Regions from separate parts of the Homo sapiens genome. Here all the other regions are linked to region 3. The links are contacts of gene promoters, found by promoter capture Hi-C in blood cells and fetal thymus (Javierre and others, 2016). All regions are on one chromosome and are shown on one strand. Each heading gives the region's core, a stretch centred on a gene start or on the middle of the fragment in contact. The rest is flanking DNA. Distances are from core to core; before and after follow the strand shown.

Region 1 (3,976 bases), core at 795-3,294, 430 kb after region 3:
GGAAGCCGTCTTTTTTTGTTTTTTTGTTTTTTTGAGACAGGGTCTTGCTCTGTCATCTAGGCTGGAATGCAGTGGCATGATCAGGTCTCACTGCAGCCTCAATCTCCTAGGCTTAGGCGATCCTCCCACTTTGGCCTCCCAAAGTTTTGGGATTACAGGCATGAACCACGGTGGGGAGCACTCCTAAGGAAGGACAGGGGCCGCTGGGACACACAGGCAGTTGGGGAAGATTTGGAGAGAAAGGGAACTCTTAAAAGATCAAGGAAAATTTGCTGGAAGAGAAGTGGGTTTTAGTAGAGGGTGGTTTGCAGACTGTTTAAGTAGGAACACAGGAGCAAAAGTCCTAAAGGTAAGAAAGTACAACCTGTTCTAGAAACTGACTCTAGTTCAGAATGGCTGTAAGAGATAAGGCTGGATGAGTAGATAAGACCCTGATCTCAAGGGGCTTGTATGCCATTTTGAAGACCTGTCATCTAGGTACTGGGGAGCTGTGGAAGGGGTTCAGGATGGAGAGTGACACAATCAGAATTTCTGGGAAGGTCCTCGTGTTGCAGTGGCGAGAGCGTAGGTGGGAGTGGACTCTAGGCTGAAGGTGAGGTAGCCAGTTAGGCTGTTGCAGTTACTCAGGAGGGATGATGTTGGCTTGAATTAAGGGAATGACAGGTGGCATAAGGAGTGGATGCAACTGAAAGCTGTTTTGGAGGTAGCATGAACAAGCTTGGTGACAGATCTACAAGCTGAGAAAGGAGCCACTAAGGGTGATGGCCACCTTGTTCTCTTGAAAATTCGGGGAAAGGGTACCATTTGCTAAGATAAGTCACATAGTAGAAGGAAGAGGTTTGTGGGAAGAGATGATGAGCTTGGTTTTGGACACATGGTGAGTTTTAGGTGTCTGTGGAGACATCTAGTAGTTATTTGGATTTAGGGTCTGTAGCTCAAGAAGAGACAGCAGGGAGCATGAGAATGAATGGGGAAACTCAGGGAGAGTGGGAGGCAGCAGAAGAATAAGAGAGCTTAGGACCAACCCCAAGGAACCCTCAAATGCGGGGACAGGCTGATGAAGAGGCAGTTCCTAAGGAGAAGGTCAGCTAAAGATGCCTGGCCAGAGAGGCAGGCATCAACCCAGGGGGAGGTGCTGCTTGGAAGCCAGAGGAAGAGTGTTTTTCAATAGTAGCATTAAAAGCTGCTGAGGGATTGAACGAGGTGAGGACTGAGTCCCTGCTGGGTTTCGTGACAAAGTCCTTGTTGACCTGGGAGAGCTGCTTCAGTGGAACAGGTGGGGTTGAAGTTGGGTTGTTGTGGTTTGAGGAATGATGCACAGCCAGGGAGGGGACATGAAATGTCGACAGCTCTTCCCAGAGGTTTACCCATGAAGTGGGGAAGAAAGTGCATTGGTTGGATGAGCTGTCAGAAGTTGTTTGTTGAGCCTGCCTAGATGGTTGTAAGTAGGGCTGTGGTGAGGGAGAGAGATGAGAAGATGGAGAGGGCAATGGAGTGAGTCTCTAAGGAGGTGGGAGGAGAAGGCATGGCAAGCACATGGCTGACTCCGAGTGTGGCTGTCCTGGGGACAGTTGTCCTTTGCCATCAGTGTTGTGTCCTCTACCAAGTCCCCTGTGGTCCTTTGTAAATAGCTTTATCTGGAGACAGAATGGCTCACAGCCAGTTAGGTTTTAAGAAGCTGAATCTGCCACATTCATGTATTTTCTTGTCCTTTCTCTGAGTGCAGTTAACCTGTTAGAGATGCCGGAAGTGAAGCTGTCCATCTGGGTAGCTGAATACATTTTCTTTGAATCCCATTATTGCTGTGAGGCTTTTGAAGGACAGGGTATGGCCATACTGGGGATGACTGTGAACTCATTCAGAGTGGGGTCCTCCTTCTGTTTGGTGTTTTGTTCTGACAATTGAACTTGTCAAATGGAGTTAGTATTAGGGCTAAAAGTATTTCTTTGTTATTCCCAACAATATACACACACAAATGGATGCTGTCACACACTGGCCAGATATATGTATATATATGTATATATGTATATTTTTTTTCAGTAGGAACTCAGATGAAAGCCTACTTGGCTTTTTCATTGAGAGGGCCACCTAAGTCCCTGACACTTATTAAGGATGCTTATTAAGGATAAACCCATCTCTGGTAATTTCTCTCCTAGGATCCTGTGTGAGTGGGGAGTTGCCCTCCCTGGCAGCTGGTCACAGGGCTTGATCTAGAAGATGGAGGCCATGGTATTCAGCAGAAAAGTTAGGCTTAGACTAATGACTTTCCTCCAGGAGAAAGTTGATAATTTGCATATAAAGCAGTGCAAAAAATTGTGTAGGTTATGAAGTTAGTCAGTGAAACTTGTGAATTTGAATGCAGTGTCAGTGGGAAAGGCAGAGTTGTTGGAGGCATAACCCACCAGTGCCTTGAAGTCTGCCTTTTAATGAAATTTCCTTGAAGAAGAAAGAAAAAGAGAAGAAAAGCTGAATGATGGTACTGCTTATTTTCTTTCCCTAGTTTTTAGTTCCTCTTAGGCAAATATGAACAGAATATTAATATGTTTTCTTTAGTGTAGTCCAGAGCTGAGTCATTATCTGGTAAAGAAATAGAGTATGGAGCTGGGTACGGTAGCTCACGCCTGTATTCCCAGCACTTTGGGAGGCCGAGGCAGGTGGATCACCTGAGGTCAGGAGTTCAAGACCAGCCTGGCCAATGTGGCAAAACCCCATCTCTACTAAAAATATAAAAATTATCTGGGCGTGTTGGCGGGCACTTGTAATCCTAGCTACTTGGGAGGCTGAGGCAGGAGAATCGCTTGAACCCGGGAGGTGGAGGCTGCAGTGAGCCAAGATTGTGCCACTGCACTCCAGCCTGGATGACAGAGCAAGACTCTGTCCCCCCAAAAAAAAAAAAAAAAGAAAAGAAAAAAAAAAAAGAAATGGGGTATAGGGTAGGATAGGTTCCACCGGTGTGGAGCCTGACACAGTGCCCAAGGGATTCTCTCTAGCCATGGGCACAGCCACACTTTTTTGGGTCAAACACTGACCATCACTACTTTGGGTGTCAGAGTCTTGAGAAATATCCAGGTAGGAGGGTGGGCCCCTGGCACCAAGTGAAGACCGAAAGGGAGCCTCAGAAGGATGCTGTCCAGGAAGCCTCCCACCAGGCTGGCAGGAAACCCAAACAGCAGGGTTTTCTTCCCAGAGAGTTGATAGTGAAAATGAGTTCCACAAATGCTGTTCTGGACTGAGCTAGGTCCCTCCCCAGGAAAAGCCAGACCTTAACCACAAGGAACATCCCCTCCTGCCCACTGCTCCCTCTGGCCCTCCCTCACTGCCTTCTCTTGCTTCTGTTATGTTCTGATCTTTGGGTCAGTGCTGGGTGTGGGGAAGCTTCTGGGCAGTTGGTGGAGAAGCTTTCTGAGCATGAGTTTCTCCAAAAATGCTAATGGCTCTTAACTGAGCCCCTGGTACACAGGACACTCCATGTGTCCTTCATCCTAAGTGCTTCTGCCTTTCTCTAGAGGGTCTGTGTAAACCAAAAGGGGTGGACCCTCAGAGGAGCTTCCCCCTTCCTTTAAAGCAGCACTCTTGTTTCCTGTTTATACCAGCACTACAACCCCCTTGGGAAATGGCTGAGGAACTGTGGGAGGCGGTGGTTGAGAGAGAACCTGAGAGGGTCTGCCCCACCTGGCCTCTGTTCCCGGCCCTCGGGATTGAAAGGGAAGGAAGGAGGAGGGGTGCCTGGGAGCTGGGTGGATATGAGTCAGAAGAGGCAGGGCAGCCTCTCCCTGCTGTGCTGGTCTCAGTACCCACCAGGAGTGAGGCAGGAGTGGATGCTGGTCTGGTCCTGCTGCCAGGGCTGCTGCAGGGGCACCAGTCAGGCACATGAGCAGGAAAGTGGGTACTATCATATCTCAGTGTAGTCTGGACACTTTGGTCCATCATAGGTCAAGTAGAATTAATTAGCTCATTAGTTCAACAAATCTTGGGG
Region 2 (3,717 bases), core at 418-2,917, 260 kb after region 3:
ATAAAGGCAAACACTGTAGCCAGGAATGAACCACAGGCAAACAAGGCAGGAGCAAGAGGAGACGGTCCTGCTCCCATTCAGCCTCAGCCTCCTCCCAGTGCACCCTTTACTCCACCCCAAAATTTTCTAAAATGCACATCTGAACAAGTCACTCCCCTTCTGGGAATCTCCCCGTGCCTTTCCAGACAAAGATTCAAGCCCCATAATACAGTATCAAAGGACCTCTCCACCTGACCCCCATCACATCCTCAGCATCCTTCCAACTGTCCTAACTCAGTTACCCTCTCCCAGTCACATGCCTCTCCTGCTCCACCCTTTGCTCACACTGATCCCTCGATCTGGAATGTCATTCCCAACTTCTGTAGCCTAACCCTACTTTCTATCCCAAGTCCCCAAAAGTCATCCTGGAACACAGCATGATTAGAGTCTAACTTCGAGCTTGGCAACTGACCGGCCTAGGGTCAAATCCTGACTCTACTTGTCAGCGCTAAGACCCTAGGCAAGAAGCTGCCCTCCTGCCACACCTCAGCATCCTCAGCTGTAGGATGAAAAGCGTTAATACCCAGCCCACAGGGCTGCAGAGACTGATCAACGTGAAAGAACACAGGAGTGCTGGGCAGAGCTCCCTGGCACTCAACTGACACTGGCTTCTCTGCCCTCTTCTATACTAACGAGAACTTAGAAACCCTGAGTTTCAGATGAGAGCTGGGAATAGTGTTCTACAGTGGTTTAATGGAACAGAATTCAAGACTCAGGAATTAACTTACAGAAGTTACCCAAGACTTCATCAATAAATGAAGGACCAGAAGCCACCTTGCCTGCCAGTTGCTAGGACTAGCAATAATAACCTAAAGTGCCCAATGCATAATCAATACCTATGGGCACCATCACTGTTTCCTTGGCCCTATCACATGGGGCTCTCTTGTCTTTCTAGGGTCCCTTCTATTGCTTGGAGAGGGTCCAACAGAGAAGCGCACCTTATCAAACTGCACTTCCATTCAACTTAGAAGATAGAGGGATTCATCTCTGTAAGAGTTACACACATAGATGGATGACCTCCACCAGGTGCTCAATGAGATGATGCCTTTGGGAAGGAAGCCCGAGCCATCAGCTGCTTTGAGCAAAACTCATGAGTGGGCAAAACTCATGAGTGGGCCAGGCACGGTGGCTCATGCCTGTAATCCCAGCACTTTGGGAGGCCAAGGTGGGCGGATCACGAGGTCAGGAGTTTGAGACCAGGCTGGCCAACATGGTGAAACACCATCTCTACTAAAAATACAAAAATTAGCCGGGTACAGTGGTATGCACCCATAATCCCAGCTACTTGGGAGGCTGAGGCAGGAGAATCCCTTGAACCCGGGAGGCAGAAGTTGCAATGAGCCGAGGTCACACCACTGCACTCCAGCCTAGGTGACAGAGCAAGATTCCATCTCAAAAAAAAAAAAAAAAAAAAAAAACAACAACTCATGAGTGAAGATTTTCCTGATCACTGACCAGAGAAAACCACTCTCCTTTAAGGATGGAATTTCCATAGAGGGCCTTAGAGACACCTAGATCTGAGGTCACAGACTTGGCTGAGGTCACCTGAGGTCAAAGTCGAAAATTGGGACAAAGGACAATGAGAAGCTCCCAAGATTTATATTTCCATTGAGGATGACCTTCCCCAAAAATCTCCACCCTTGCTTTTCTGCTGCATTTGGGTATGCTGGGTTGGCATCACAACTTAACATGGCCTAAACCAGCTCCTCCAGCATCTCAGTTAATGGCCTCTTTCTTTCTAGGTGCTAAGACCAGAACCTCGGAGTCCTCCTCAGTTTTCTTTCTGGTTCATCAGCAAATCTCAACCTCACCTTGAAATCCCACTAGTCTCCCCTCAGCCCTGCATTCTGGCTGGTCTCCTTGCTGTCCTGCCTTCAATCTGTCTCACACAGCAACGCCTAGAGTGTGCTTGCTAAAAGCTAGATCAGTCCACCTCCCTTCTTTACTCCAAAACCCTCCAATGGCTTCTACCACCCTCAAGGTAAAATCTACCAGCCTTACAGTGGTCCGCATGGCCTTACATGATCTGACCCCCATGGTTTCTCTGACCTCAAGACCAAATTCTCCCCTCCTCCTGCCTCAGGGCCTTTGTATCTGCTGTTTCCTCCCCTCAGAATGATCCTTCTCCCAGATCTCCACATGCCTCACTCCCTACACATCTTTAGTTAAAAATGACTCAAGCCCTCTGCTATGAACTCAACTGTATCCCCCACCACCACCGAAAGAATTCATTATATTGAAGCCCTACCCCCACAATGTGGCTGTATTTAGAGATAGAGCCTTTAGGAGGTAACCAAGTTTAAATGAGTTCTTAAGGATGGGGCCCTGATCCAATAGGAAAACTTTATTTTTTTAAACAAAGTAGCTTTGTCACCCAGGCTGGTGTGCAGTGGCACAATCATGGCTCACTGCAGCCTCAACCTCTTGGGCTCAAGCAATCCTCCCACCTCAGCCTCCTGAGTAGCTGGGACTACAGGCACTACTACCACGTCCAGCGAATTTTTTATTTTATTTTATTTTATTTTGTAGAGACAGAGTCTTATTATGTTGCCTAGACTGGTCTCAAGTGATCCTCCTGCCTCAGCCTCCTGAAGTGCTGGGATTACAGGTGTGACCAACAGTGCTTGAACAGAAAGATAAATGGCACCAAGAAAAGGCCATGTGAGGACTCATCAAGAGGATGGCCACCTACAAGCCAGGAAGAAAGCCCTCACCAGAAACTAAAGAGGCCAGAACCTTGACCTTGGACTTCCCAGACTCCAGAATTATACGAAACAAATTTCCGTTGTTTAAGCCACCCACACTGTGCTATTTTTGTTATGGCAGTGTTAGCAGACTCATATACCTTCCTCCCTGTCTACCCTTCCAAAAATATCAACTCCCATCCCCACACTTAATCCCCCGAGCCTTGTCAGATTCCTCTTCACAGAACCAGATCTCATTGTCCACATCCCTACAGTGTGGGCTCCATGTGGGCTGGGAATCTCCCTGCAGCATCCCAAGCACCAAGAATATTACCCAGCACAGATCAGGCACTCAATGTAATAAATGTATGAAAGGCCTATGAAAGGTGCAAGCTGAAAGCAGACCTCAATTACAGGAGAGCCAAGAACCTAGAACCTGTGACGAAATAACAGGTTCAAAATAGCAAAGCCACAGAGAAAATGAGAAGAACGGCATAGCGCACAAAGGGCTCGTTTCAACCTAGAGGCTGCAATGCACAGCTTAACCTGGAGGAGGATGGTTCCCTACAGAAAGAATAAAAGCAAGCCCAGAGAACAACTGGAGGAATAGCAGGGCATGAAAATGAATTAATGAGGTGAGGTTACTGGGCACTGGGAACCAACAGACTGGTGTGTGAGAGTTTTATGGGCAAGGCCAGGAAACGGTTCAGGAAGGACTGTAAGATGTTTAAATTTAAAAAGCCTAAGAGGATTAAATATAAATACGTTTTTAAAAAGCTTCAATTTACATGTACAAAGCACCATATAATTTCAAATCATTACTGTTGATCTTTTTTTTTTTTTTTTTAGGAGACAGTCTCACTCTGTCACCCAGGCTGGAGTGCAGTGGCACGATCTCGACTCACTGCAAACTCCACCTCCCAGGTTCAAGCGATTCTCCTGCCTCAGCCTCCTGAGTAGCCGGAAATACAGGCATGCGCCACCATGCCCGGCT
Region 3 (3,979 bases), core at 1,053-3,552:
TCTGCTTGGGAGGCCCCTGGATGCCAGAGTAGAACATATTCCTCAGGGTTATGCTGCCTGCAGGGCGAGGGAGCTGGGGAATTTATACACCAAGATCTGTCCATCATTGGTTAAGGACAGCTCCCAAAGGCTATACTTCCCTAATAGTTCCAACCTGCTGAGTGCATAGGCTGAGTGGGCTTCCGAGCATGCTGGTCCCATCTCCTAATGATGAGAGGTGGAGGCACAGGAGAAGGTAAACAAATGGCAAAGACACTTAAATACATGAGAAAATGAGTCCAACCTGAACTTTGACTTTTCTGGGTGGCCCACTCATCCCACTAACTACCATAACTTCATTTCGTCTGCTTTTTGCAAAGAACAGACAATTCCAAACAGCCAAGCCTAACAAGTAGCTCATCTTAGCTTGTGGATTCAGAGCACTGGTGGCCTCTCCACCTCCAATTGACACCAGAAAACATATAAATACCTCTAAACATGCCTTGGGTATTTGTTTTTCTAATTGCAAATATTATACCATAACTTAGTTTGAAGGCTTTGTAAAGAATATGCCAGAAACATCTAATATTAGCCCTAAAAACTAGGGCAATCTTTTTTTTAACAGAAGAGTGTTCATATAAACATCAAAAGATGTGATGAGAGTAGTTTCAACTTCTAATCATAGAAATTATAGGGCTATTTCATGAAAGAGGTGCTTTATCAGCTCATCTTGAGTGAATGTTAAAGATGAAGATATGGCTAGTATCTCCAGAGTCTACTGTCTCAGAGAGGTAGCCCAAAGTTGTAAGACTGAGTGCCTTGAGGTAGGGAACAGGAAGCAACAGGGTCTCCAGGTTCACTGAGGAGTACTGACCTGCAATGCGATTCCTACATCAGCAAAGGTCTTCCTTCCATCGTTAGAGGACTCCTGGATTTGCTATGCCTATCCTGATGGCTTCCTACATGAGACCATCCATTCACACTTGGCCCTTACCCAGGCCTGAAATTCTCCCCAGTTGCACTCCACCCACTTATGTCTATCACTTAGCTCAAAGCCAGTAAAGCTCATCTCTGAACTAGCAAAGATTCCCTTTATCCCATCAAAATGTCCTTAACATCTATCTTGAGGTCATGCAGCATGATCTTACTTTGCTGGCATTCTTTCCTTCTTCTGTGGATTCCCAAGCAGAGTACAGATGTACAGATTCCTTGGGGGATAAGAGCTGGAATTTCAGCTTCTTTTTTTTTTTTTTTTTTTTGAGACGGAGTCTCGTCTGTTGCCAGGCTGGAGTGCGGTGGTGCAATCTCTGCTCACTGCAACCTCCGACTCCCTGGTTCAAGCTATTCTCCTGCCTCAGCCTCCCAGGCAGCTGAATTACAGGCACACACCACCACGCCCAGCTAATTTTTGTATTTTTAGTAGAGACAGGGTTTCACCATGTTGGCCAGGACGGTCTCGATCTCCTGACCTCATGATTTACCTGCCTTGGCCTCCCAAAGTGCTGGGATTACAGGCATGAGCCACCGCACCCGGCCTCACCTTCTTTTATATCCCACACAGCACCCAGCACAGAGCACAAAGCTAAGCGCATCGATCCAGCGACTGACTGACTGAATAAATGAATACATGCTATCTTGCTTGTAGAAGCCCAGATTCCTCCTTCTTACGACTCCCACACCCACTTAGGAGATTCTATTATGTCTTAAAAGAAGTTACATCTCCATTAGTGTCAAAGCAACATTATATAAGTGGCTCAACATGATCAGGCATGAATTTCTTTGTTTTCCCACTCACCTGAAAGCCCAAAAACAATCCAGGTGGTGGTAAACACTTCTGATCCTTCAAAGAAAACGGAAGAAAGCGATCCCTACCGTCTATTTTGAATCTACCGTTTTTTGTTTTTGAGTGTCTTTTAAATCTATTCAAAATCCTTTAAGGGCATTTCACCATGCATGGGAGAAGGTCATGGATCCTCAACAAATTGCAAGAGGCCTTTCACAGGCTAGACTCTGCCTTGTTCTCCAAGCTCACCTTCCATAATCCTGATGTGCTCCATATTGCCAGACTCTTTCAAGTCCTTCCCCGCCCTGCGGAGAATCCCTACTCACACCTCAGGACCAGCTCAGACATGGTCTCCAGGAGACCTTTTCTAAGATCCTATGTGAGGTAACTAGCCCCCTTGGCACCTTGTGACATAATTATTCACTTCCATGTACATGTCCCGTAGTGAACTATGAGCACCTCCAGACCTTACCCTGCGTTTGGTCGCCTTGCTCTCCTCTCTGCAGCTGGCACCCAATCTTTCCAGGCTGTCTCTAGGGACTCGAGCCCTTGGGATGGGGTCCTCAATGCTTTTCCACCTGCCTGGCTTCTAAATTCCACTAAGATCCTGTCCCATTCTCTTGGAAACACTAGAACTTACTCTGACATGCCCTATGGAAGTTATTTCTCCACTGCTGTTCAAACCCACTCCCAGACCTGGCCTTCCCTGAGGAGAGCGTCTCAGCCAAATCCAACTGCCTCTAGCTCAAGTTTCCTTGCGGGGGGCCCGCTGGCCTCATCCTGTTAGGTCGTCTTAGAGCCACAGGAGAATCAATGTTCCAGTGTCAGCAGGAAGAATCAATGTTCCAGTGTCAGCCAGCAGGGGGCAGTGTGAAAATACACACACCAGGCCCTTTTTTCAAAGGGTCTCGGCTTCCCTGAGGGTGTCTATCTGTGCCTCTATGAAGCATGGCTTGGGTCATTCCTCCAGTCCCATGGCCAGGTGGATCCTTCGTTTACCTTTCATTTCTATTAAATGAGAACATTCTCAATTCACTAACTGGATTGTTGGAAAGGCAGCAAGCTCTGCTAGATAGTTCTAAATATTTGCATCAAATATGGACCAGAAATTGTGAATCTGTCTTTCAACGCCCTCGGATCTGAGTCAGCAAGGCTGCCACGTGCAAAAGTAGGAACGTTAAATACTTGAAGCTGGGAGAGAATAAGTGGGTTTCTAATCCTCTCTGGTGCATTCAGTTCTAGAAAGTGGTTCTTTGTATTCTACTGGAACATTTCTATGTATGGTTTTTTTGTTGTTTGTTTGTTTGTTTTTTGAGACAGAGTCTCCCTCTGTTGCTCAGGCTGGAGCACAGTGGCACAATTTCAGCTCACCACAACCTCTGTCTCCCGGGTTCAAGGAATTCTCCTGCCTGAGCCTCCCGAGTAGCTGAGATTACAGGCACGTGCCACCACGCCCAGCTAATTTTTGTATTTTTGGTAGAGGCAGGGTTTCACTATGTTGGCCAGGCTGGTGTATGTATGTTTTAAACATGCTTTAAAACAAAATTTCTTTTTAGAGATGGGATCTTGCTATGTTGCCCAGGCTGGAGTGCAGTGGCTATTCACAGGTGTGATCATGGCGCACTGAAGCCTAGAACTACTAGGCTCAAGCAATCCTCCCACCCTAGCCTCCCACGTAATTGAGACTACAGGTATACACCACCATGCCCGGCCTTAAACATGCTTTTAAATGTGTCATAAATCACATTTCTCTGATGAATAAAAAGAATTATCTAATGTTGAGAAAGAGTCAGTGTTTAATCATTTACCTCACAGTGCAGATTTCTTAATAAATTCTGTTATTGAATCTACAGAATTTAACATTATGTTATTTTTGGCCCTGAAGGCATAACTTCAAGCCATTCTGGATACTGAATGTGTTGCTGACATACACATTAGCAAATCACTCAGAAGCATATACACTTTATTGCATTATCAGTAACATGAAGAAATATTTCTATATCATGAGAAAGAGCACTTTCTTCTTGATATGTGTGTAATCCCTTGGTCTTGGGAAGCTAAGGCACAGCTTACAGAGGGATTTTGTATACCCCACTCATTACGTAGCTTAAATCAGGCTGGGTAAACATGTAAACCAAATGCAAATCATCAATCTACATATGTTTAAGAAATAATATAGACATACTGCTGAAGCATGCCTCCCAGGGAGTTCTGGAC

Evidence for each region. Contacts are between HindIII fragments. The CHiCAGO score rates a contact against its expected background, and 5 or more counts as called.
Region 1: a fragment that was not itself captured here is called in contact with the fragment with the promoter of PRNT in region 3 in 1 of 17 cell types (naive CD4 T cells); the score reaches 5.3 in naive CD4 T cells.
Region 2: a fragment that was not itself captured here is called in contact with the fragment with the promoter of PRNT in region 3 in 2 of 17 cell types (naive CD4 T cells and total CD4 T cells); the score reaches 5.5 in naive CD4 T cells.

Annotation. Positions count from the first base shown.
Region 1 is chr20:5,165,534-5,169,509 of GRCh38, forward strand. All of the region lies in intron 1 of CDS2 (CDP-diacylglycerol synthase 2), which reads left to right. Among named protein-coding and RNA genes, the nearest start is that of CDS2, 41 kb to the left of the region's middle. The HindIII fragment of the contact is 2,658 bases long and covers 716-3,373 here.
Region 2 is chr20:4,995,253-4,998,969 of GRCh38, forward strand. The region is part of intron 1 of SLC23A2 (solute carrier family 23 member 2); the gene reads right to left. Among named protein-coding and RNA genes, the nearest start is that of SLC23A2, 4.4 kb to the right of the region's middle. RefSeq lists an enhancer at 3,246-3,717. The HindIII fragment of the contact is 3,661 bases long and covers 1-3,498 here.
Region 3 is chr20:4,738,366-4,742,344 of GRCh38, forward strand. PRNT (prion locus lncRNA, testis expressed) reads right to left here and starts at 2,303. Exons shown (of 2, transcript NR_024269.1): 1 at 2,235-2,303. The HindIII fragment of the contact is 12,166 bases long and covers 1-3,979 here.